3 separate regions of the Homo sapiens genome follow, and regions 2 and 3 are each linked to region 1. Evidence: promoter capture Hi-C in 16 types of primary human blood cells and fetal thymus (Javierre and others, 2016). All regions are on one chromosome and are shown on one strand. The core of a region is centred on a gene start or on the middle of the fragment in contact, and the rest is flanking DNA. Distances in the headings are between cores, read along the strand shown. Region 1 holds the start of GTF3C6 (general transcription factor IIIC subunit 6). Region 2 overlaps SLC22A16 (solute carrier family 22 member 16). Region 3 overlaps REV3L (REV3 like, DNA directed polymerase zeta catalytic subunit).

Region 1 (2,759 bases), core at 72-2,571:
CAGAGCCAGACCCTGTCACAAAAAAGAAAGGAAAGAAAGAGAGAAAGAAAGAAACAAACAATGAATAAAAGAAAGAGAGAAAGAGCATCATACTAAAAAATTTATATATTACTACTAATAATAGATTAAATGCACTTTAAATGCTTACTATGTGCTGAATACTGGGCTAAATTTATTTTATATGTATTGTCTCATTTAATCCTCACAACCACCAATCTGCCCAAAGCCTTGCTGTTAATAATGCAGCAGAACTTGACTGGTATTAAAATCCAAAGCTCAGGCTGGGGACGGTGGCTCACACCTGTAATCCCAGCATTTTGGGAGGCCCAGGCAGGGGGATCGCCTGAGGTCGGGAGTTCGAGACCAGCCTGACCAACATGGAGAAACCCCGTCTCTACTAAAAATAACAGAATTCGCCGGGCGTGGTGGCGCATGCCTATAATCCCAGCTACTCGGGAGGCTGAGGCAGGAGAATCGCTTGAACCCGGGAGGTGGAGGCTGCAGTGAGCCGAGATTGCACCATTGCACTCCAGCCTGGGTAACAAGAGCAAAACTCCATCTCCAAATAAATAAATAAATAAAAATCCAAAACTCACGATCTTAACCACTAGATCACGCTATCGCAAGTACGAAGACCGTTTCTTTCACAATCACAAACATCTATGGGATACTTCTGAAAATTCTGTTCAAACTTCTCTTGCCCAGGTCTCTGTGTTCCTATAACAATGTGTATCTCTTACAGCACTTGCTTGGATCCATTTATGTACCTCTCACAGATCTTATGCTCCTGCAGGCCTGAAACTTAAGCCCACTTTCTATTTTTCATAGCTCCTGGTGCAGTGCTTTTTACTGTGTAGGCGCTCATTAGTATTAAACTGAATGTGCCTTTAACTTGGCTTGGGGTACGTTGAATTGAGGATGAGCGCTCACACAATATTAAGAATTTCTTTCCAAGAAATGTGCTCGGGTCAAACACAAGGCCTTTCTGTCCATGATCCGCCTGAAACCATGGTTTCCTTGTTTTCGCCTTTATCCCTTCTGCCTTGCCAGTCCTCCCCGCCAGCGGGGCCGAGAGCCCGGCGACTCTTGCGTGACCGAGCGGGCTCCGCTGCCTACGGCAGCCCACCCCCAGCCCCTGCTCTGAGGCACCGAGAAACGAGGAGGCCCGTGGCGAGTCTCCACGTGGGTACCGGCGCTCTCGGCGCCCGTAGCCACCCGCCCGCCGGAAGCCGACATCTCGAGTTCTGGCAGAAGCAATTTGCGCGGCGAGGAGCGGAGCGGCAGGAACCCAATAAGCTGCTTCGCCTCGGAGCTGAAGCCCGTACTCAAGATGGCGGCTCCGGGCGGGCGTGGCCAGTGACTAGAAGGCGAGGCGCCGCGGGACCATGGCGGCGGCGGCGGACGAGCGGAGTCCAGAGGACGGAGAAGACGAGGAAGAGGAGGTAGTAAGCGCTACGCCAAAAGCCTGCACCGCAGTGGCGGTGATGCCTGTGCTGGCTGTGTGTGGGGAAGGGAGTTGGGGAGCTGCGGGCCGGAGGGAGGCCCCACTGCTCCTCACCGGCTTCTTGCTCCTGGGCGCGAGGAGCCGGGCAGCTTGGGACCTTAGCCCTAATCGTCACCCCGTACTTGGGATGGGAAGTACCGGGAAGTTACCTTAGGTAGCGTAGTTTCCTCTTGCTGAAAACAGGGTCCGGTTTTCACAAATGTGGGAAATTTGGCTTCTTTTGCTAATTGCTCCCTCTTGGCCGCTCGCGTGCTAGCATGTTAACCCCTCTTTCTTTCACCAGGAGCAGTTGGTTCTGGTGGAATTATCAGGAATTATTGATTCAGACTTCCTCTCAAAATGTGAAAATAAATGCAAGGTTTTGGTGAGTTTTCTAGACTTGGGGGGATTGTTCTAGAGTGTCTTAAATGTAAAACAAGAATCAATGGTGAAATACCTATCCGCAAGTATTGATATATTTATTTCACCTTACAAAGTAGTGAACTCTAAGGATAAGAAGTATACTAAGTATAATTAATTAATATGTAATTAAGTATAATGTAGAAGTACAGCGGGGACTATGGGAGCAGATAGGAGAAAATGGCTAACTTTGCTTGCCTGTTTGAATGTGTGGCTGAAGAGAAAGTTACAGATTTGGAGGAAGTAACATTGTGATATGGAACCGTACATATATTCCTGTATTCTCAGCACTTTGGGAGGCAGAGGTGGGAGGATCACTTGAGCCCAGGAATTGGAGACCATCCTAGGCAACATAACGAGACCCCTTCTCTAAAATAATAATAAAAAAAAATGGCCAGGCGCGGTGGCTCACGCCTGTAATCCCAATACTGGGAGGCCGAGGCGGGTAGATCACGAGCCCAGGAGTTCGAGACCAGCCTGGCCAACATGGTGTAACCCCGTCTCTACTGAAATACAAAAATTAGCCAGGCATGGTGGTGGGCGCCTGTAATCCCAGCTACTCGGGAGGCCGAGACAGGAGAATCGCGTGATCCCTGGAGGCAGAGGTTGCAGTGAGCCGAGATCGCGCCACTGTACTCCAGCCTGGGCAACAAAGGGCAAAACTCCATCTCAATAAAAAAAAAAAATAATAATAATAATAAATTAGCTGGGGATGGTGGCATGCGCCTGTGGTCCCTGCTGCTCAGGAGGCTGAGGTGGGAGGATTGCCTGAACATGATCATGCCACTGCATTCCAGCCTGGGTGACAGAGCTAGACACTGTCTCAAAAAATAAATAGATGACAGATAGACTCTTT
Region 2 (2,759 bases), core at 150-2,649, 530 kb before region 1:
TCCTAATGCTCTCCATTAGGCATCACATAATCTTTTTGGAGCAGGCAGCCCCCAGAATTCGCCTTGCCCAGCAGGCACTCAGTGGGAACACAGAGGCAAGGCCAGGCCAGCGGGTGGGGGCAGATGCCCTGAGGAGGACAGAGACCAGAGCTCTCCCTTCCCCAGGCCTGGCTTCCAGGCAAGGGTGAGGACATGCCCTTTTGTGGCAGGCAGAGTTGTAATGAACAGCTCAGCAGTGGTGGAAGGCCACCAATGGCCAATCGCACAGCAGCCACCACCCTACTCACCAACTGGCCAGCTGTTGGTAATGGGGTTGTTTCTACAAACCCCATTAGGAAATGATGTACTGGCTTTCAGTAAATAACAATAGAGAAGTTGCTAATAGGCAATTAGAAACTGCCTCCGTGCCCCCTTGGGGAGGGTCTGCAAACTGAAGCACACCTGTGGTATGAAGATCCAAATGCTGCTGAGGTCCACAGAGAACGGCGCCAGGATGCTGGCCAGGCGACACACCATGCTGCCGCTTCCCACAGCCAGCGATCTGGAAACAGAGGAGAGAGGCTGAGACAAGTAAGGCACAAGTGACCCAGGGATTGAGGGACCTGCTTCCTGCAGCTCCTTTCCCACGCTCCCCAGCAAGGATAAGGGTGGTCAGGCAGCGCATTACAACGTTTCAGTCAACCTCGGTGGCCCCGCGAGATTATAATAGCACATTTTTACTCGACTTTTTCTATCTTTCAATATGTTTAGATACACAAATATTTACCATTGTGTTACGACTGCCTGCAGTATTCAGTGCAGTAACATGCTGTGGAGGGTCACAGCCGAGGAGGAATAAGCTGTGCCACATAGCCTGGGTGTGTAGTATGCTGGGCCATCTAGGTTTGTGTAAGTTCACTCTATGATGTTCTGACAACCACGAAATCACCAAAGGATGCATTTCTCAAAACGGTGCCCATCATTAAGCAACACATGACCGTAAAAAAACGTAAGCTTGAAAATAATTTTACTTAAATTTTTCAAGAATCACAATACCTACATTTTGTGAAACAGTGGTGTATATAAGCATGCACATAATTCAAGACAATTCATGACAAAAAAGAGGTAGGAGTGTGGAGGTAAGCCATTCTTCATCTGCTGTGCAGGTGAGGCCCTTGTGTGTACTGATCCAGCCTAACATTAAGAATAATAAGGTCTTCTAGAGCAGGAATTTGTTTCAGGTAGGGAGTGGGAATTTGAGAGAACAAAGTATCTGTATACCTGTGTACTGTTCTATTTCAACTTTTTAGAGTCAAGGAATATCTTAATGTGCTTTTCTTTAAAGGTTACTTAGAGAAAATGTATAGAATGTTAGTAAGGAAAGACTGTCCTTTTATGTGAGTAAGTACCTCTATAAATTAACGGTGCCTCATCTTTTCCAGTCACACACATTTATAAAGAACTGATAAAAAGTATGGCATTCTTCTGAGAAAGAAATCATACATAAGTAAAATTTTGCATGCAGTGTTAGGGTGTTTAGGGAGCTCATAGAGTTGGTTAAAGATTTCCTGTATTAAATATTTACATATTGGATTTTTTTGAGGTCATGTACCTGTGGTTGTAAACCAACAACCAAGCCAACAAAGAAAAGATCTTAAAAAATACTATAATATTCATAATTGCAATGCACATTGACATTATTTGATGGGATTGTCACCTTCTTAGCATATAACATGCATTCACTCAGCACATGTGTGTCAAGAGTCTAATATGTGCCAGGCACTGCATGGATCTGGTCCAATCTGAATTCTGAACTGGGAAAATCTGAAGCTTTTCCTGGCTGAGCAGAAATCCACCTGAGAGGCCAGAAGGGTCCCACAGGACATGACAAAGATATTCTCCCTGATTTAGAGCAGCTTCTTCCCTGGGTCAGCCACAACGGAGCCAAAGCCACAACGCAAGTTGGCAATTATGCAACTTCACTCTCTATTGCATTCAACTAGTCTCCACCATTGTCAGCCTGTAAGTGCTAGAATGTAATCTGTTATTCTGCCTGTCTGCTACTGTACATCTGTGCAGGGCTGCCACTTTCACAATATGATCTGAGAAGAGTCCACAAAGCCCTTACCCCAAAATACCTTCTTCCCCTCTGCTACTAAAGCTCTACTGCTAGCAACTTATCCCCCGCTAATGTTAAGCACTGTCTCCCATAAAAATTCTCATGTATTTCACTGGGTGACAGATAGGGCCAAAAGATGTGGATTTGAGTTCTGATGGGTCACTGACTAGCCAGATGCCTTTGGCCACGACCCTAATCTTGTGTGAATTCCAGTTCCACAACCTGTAAAATGGACAGAAGATGTATTTATTATTAGACTGCGAGAGTGGTCTAATAATAGCACTCTGGGTGACCTAGAGGGGAAGTATGGAGGAAGAAGAAAAACTCTACTCTCAGACAACTGGGCTAATAGACAATTACATAGGGAGTTATTCCTCTGCTATTCTATACCCCTGGTCACATATTAGTCTGATAAACTTTTTTCTTAGATATATATGTGTACCTACTCTATCTATCCATTCTTCCATCCCTCCATCCATCCATCCATCCATCTAGATATCCATTAATCTATCTACAGTCAACACAAATGTACTTACCCATCCTGGTCCACAGGGCTGCCTGCCCTAGCATTTCAGCAGGCAGGTGTGTGGGCATGGAAAATTCCTAGGGAAGGATTTATGCTATCTCTTGACTAATGGATTTTCTAGGTCCTACATCCCTC
Region 3 (2,759 bases), core at 191-2,690, 520 kb after region 1:
AAATAGGTGTTATATGATCTTAAAATATTTTTAAATAGCTTAGTAAAAAACAGACTATGAACAAAGCAGATTCTATTAGAGAAACTTTTGAACCTGAGTTGTTGATACACGCTAATTTTCAAAATTATTCTTATTGCAAATTTAACTCCAATTTACCAAAAAAAAAAAAAAAGGTTATTCTGGTAGTTTCTTATATTTAATTTTATAAAATATAAACAATGAGAATATATTTATAATTGGATAAGCATCTACATAAACTTATATAGCATTTCAGAATTATCAATTCCTTATGTTGAAAAGCTTGATTTCATGGCTAACAGTATCTAGAACAATCTACCAAAATATTCACTAAGCTAGAGGAAGTGGCAGAGTTCCTTAGAGTAATCTTAAAGACAAGCAGCTCCCTCTATAGTCTGTCTGGCCTACTTTGTTTAATTCCTTGCTTTGTGGACATCCCACACTCTTCTATTTACTCCTACTCTGCATCTCAGCAGGGAAGCTCTTTGAAAGGATAGTTCTGTTTAACCTGGTGCTGAGGAAACTGTGAGAGCTGTCTAAACTCAGCATGAAGTGAGTTACATCAAGCAACTAAGCAAAAGTCGAGATGTGGAAAATGGACAGCTTCCCAAGTCCACCTCAGTCAAATCCTTAAATGAAGCCTGATGATTTCATTTGTAGTGAATCCTCTGAGTGGTCACACCTATATTCAAATCTAAATGAAAAAACATTGTCCTATACTTTATTCACAACCTTTCTTCCCTCCATTAAAACAAGTTACCAAAATGTTGTTCTAAAAGAAAAAATTAACAATTTATTCTACAAATGATACTGCTCAATTTGATTATGTCAAAATAATGTTCAAGACATTTTAAAAACTAGTTAAAAAAATGGAGAGGAAATTTGTTTTTGTTTTTTAAAAAATTCCATAACTCAGATGAAGAAACTTTAAGTGATTCCCTTAGGAATCAATATCCTCAGTTGGCAAGGGATTAAATCAGTCAGGATTTACCATTCAAATCTGAATATCCCCCCCCGCCTTTTTTTTTTTTTTTTTTAAGACAGGCTCTTGCTCTGTTGCCCAGGCTGGAGTGCAGTGGCGTGATCTTGGCTCACTGCAGCCTCAACCTTCTGGGCTGAAGCGATTCTCCTGTCTCAGCTTTCCAAATAGCTAGTACTACAGGTGCACACCACCACGCCCAGCCAATTTTGTTTGTTTGTTTGTTTGTTTTGTACAGACTATGTCGCCCAGGCTGGTCTCCAACTCCTGGGTTCAAGCGATCCTCCTGCCTCTGTCTTCCAAAGTGTTGGGATTACAGGCATGAGCCACAGCACCCAGCCCTGAATATCCCTCTTTTTAAAAATACCTTTTCAAATTTCACCAACTTAAGACATGGGAGCTTTTAAACCCAAAACACTTTATTTCTTAAATTACTCAAGATACGTCCTCAAAACACAGAACAATCAAAAGTCAACTGGACTGTTTTCTAAAGCAGAAAAATGCTTTTCAGGCAATAATAGAAAAACTAAACTAGTAAAAGGGTATTAATCCAATCAGTTCAGAATTTGTAATATAATTTTGAAACGGCCACTTCATTTGAGAAAAAATATCTTTGGTTGCTATTTTTCAGGATCTCATTTGTAAAGCAAAGTCAATTTTAAAACATTTTCTCTCCAAACCAAAGTAAAGCATTAAGGACCTCCCAAAGTAATTCTTATATATGAAAAAAGTATGTTTATGCTATTTTATGTAGCATAGGTTTATCATGTGTTACACATTTTTATTACCTTATTTTACTTGTTAGTAAAGATATAAACTATAAAGATATAATACAAACCATGTTTATATCTTTGCATTATGTTTACATCTTTACTTTCAAATAAATCTGTCTTCATTAAAAATTCTAGCATTCAGAGTTTTACTAAGTCAGACTGGCCTCTCTTTTATATTAATAATTTTCAAGTTTTATTTTATTGGACTAGTTTTCCTTGGGGAGATAATTCAAAAGCAGGTAATTCTGCAGTTTTTGATTATGTTTAATTAATATTAATCTCACTGGGAGTTTCTGACGTGCTAATAAAAATGCTGGCTTGGTTTATGAAAAGTGTAAACTCTAAATGTATGCCAATGACTTCAAATTTTTTCTTGTTGAAACAAACATTTTGTTGGAAACTGTGAACTACATGGCAAATTCAATTTGATAATCCTTAACAATTTAAAATTTGACTTTCTCTGTATCAAGTTTTATGTCTTTCAATGTACATATAAAAAGTGTTACTTTTTAATTCATTTAAAATATAAATTTCAAAGTATGTACCAAAAAAAAAACCCCAATGGGGGTTTTTAGTCTTTGGTTTTTTCGTTTTTGTTTTTTTTTTTTTTTTTAAGGTGCTGGTAATCTATTGTGGGATGTCCATGAAGGATTAAATAGGAAATAGTTAATGTGTCTTTTAAAAAATATTCAGGAAAACAACAGTATATAATATTCTTTATTTTTTAAGGAACATTTCCTCACGTAATAGAATTACATTAGCTTACAGTGAAACTCATTTATTTCCACAAACGAAACTTTCCTATACAACAAAGCTTGACTATCTCTCAGGAAAACATATTTAATGACTTGTGTGGAGGAGAAAAAATTATGTGTGGAAAAGTAACTCAAACCATACAAGCTGTAATACACAGAAATGCCACAGTATATCCTATTAGCATGTCACTTTATGATTCGGAAATTTGGCTGAACAGGGCCATATCAACTTCA

What was found. The method cuts DNA at HindIII sites, captures the fragments that hold promoters and counts their contacts. A CHiCAGO score of 5 or more calls a contact.
Region 2: a fragment that was not itself captured here is called in contact with the fragment with the promoter of GTF3C6 in region 1 in 2 of 17 cell types (M2 macrophages and M1 macrophages); the score reaches 6.7 in M2 macrophages.
Region 3: a contact is called between a fragment that was not itself captured here and the fragment with the promoter of GTF3C6 in region 1, in 1 of 17 cell types (naive CD4 T cells). The highest score is 5.1, in naive CD4 T cells.

What each region holds. Positions count from the first base shown.
Region 1 is chr6:110,957,385-110,960,143 of GRCh38, forward strand. It overlaps GTF3C6 (general transcription factor IIIC subunit 6), which reads left to right and starts at 1,322. Exons shown (of 6, transcript NM_138408.4): 1 at 1,322-1,442; 2 at 1,788-1,868. The coding sequence starts at 1,386. RefSeq lists an enhancer at 1,195-1,644. The HindIII fragment of the contact is 8,604 bases long and covers 1-2,759 here.
Region 2 is chr6:110,430,730-110,433,488 of GRCh38, forward strand. SLC22A16 (solute carrier family 22 member 16) reads right to left here. Exons shown (of 8, transcript NM_033125.4): 7 at 442-541. Among named protein-coding and RNA genes, the nearest start is that of DDO, 17 kb to the left of the region's middle. The HindIII fragment of the contact is 816 bases long and covers 992-1,807 here.
Region 3 is chr6:111,478,473-111,481,231 of GRCh38, forward strand. The region is part of intron 1 of REV3L (REV3 like, DNA directed polymerase zeta catalytic subunit); the gene reads right to left. Among named protein-coding and RNA genes, the nearest start is that of REV3L, 3.4 kb to the right of the region's middle. RefSeq lists an enhancer at 170-894. The HindIII fragment of the contact is 2,284 bases long and covers 299-2,582 here.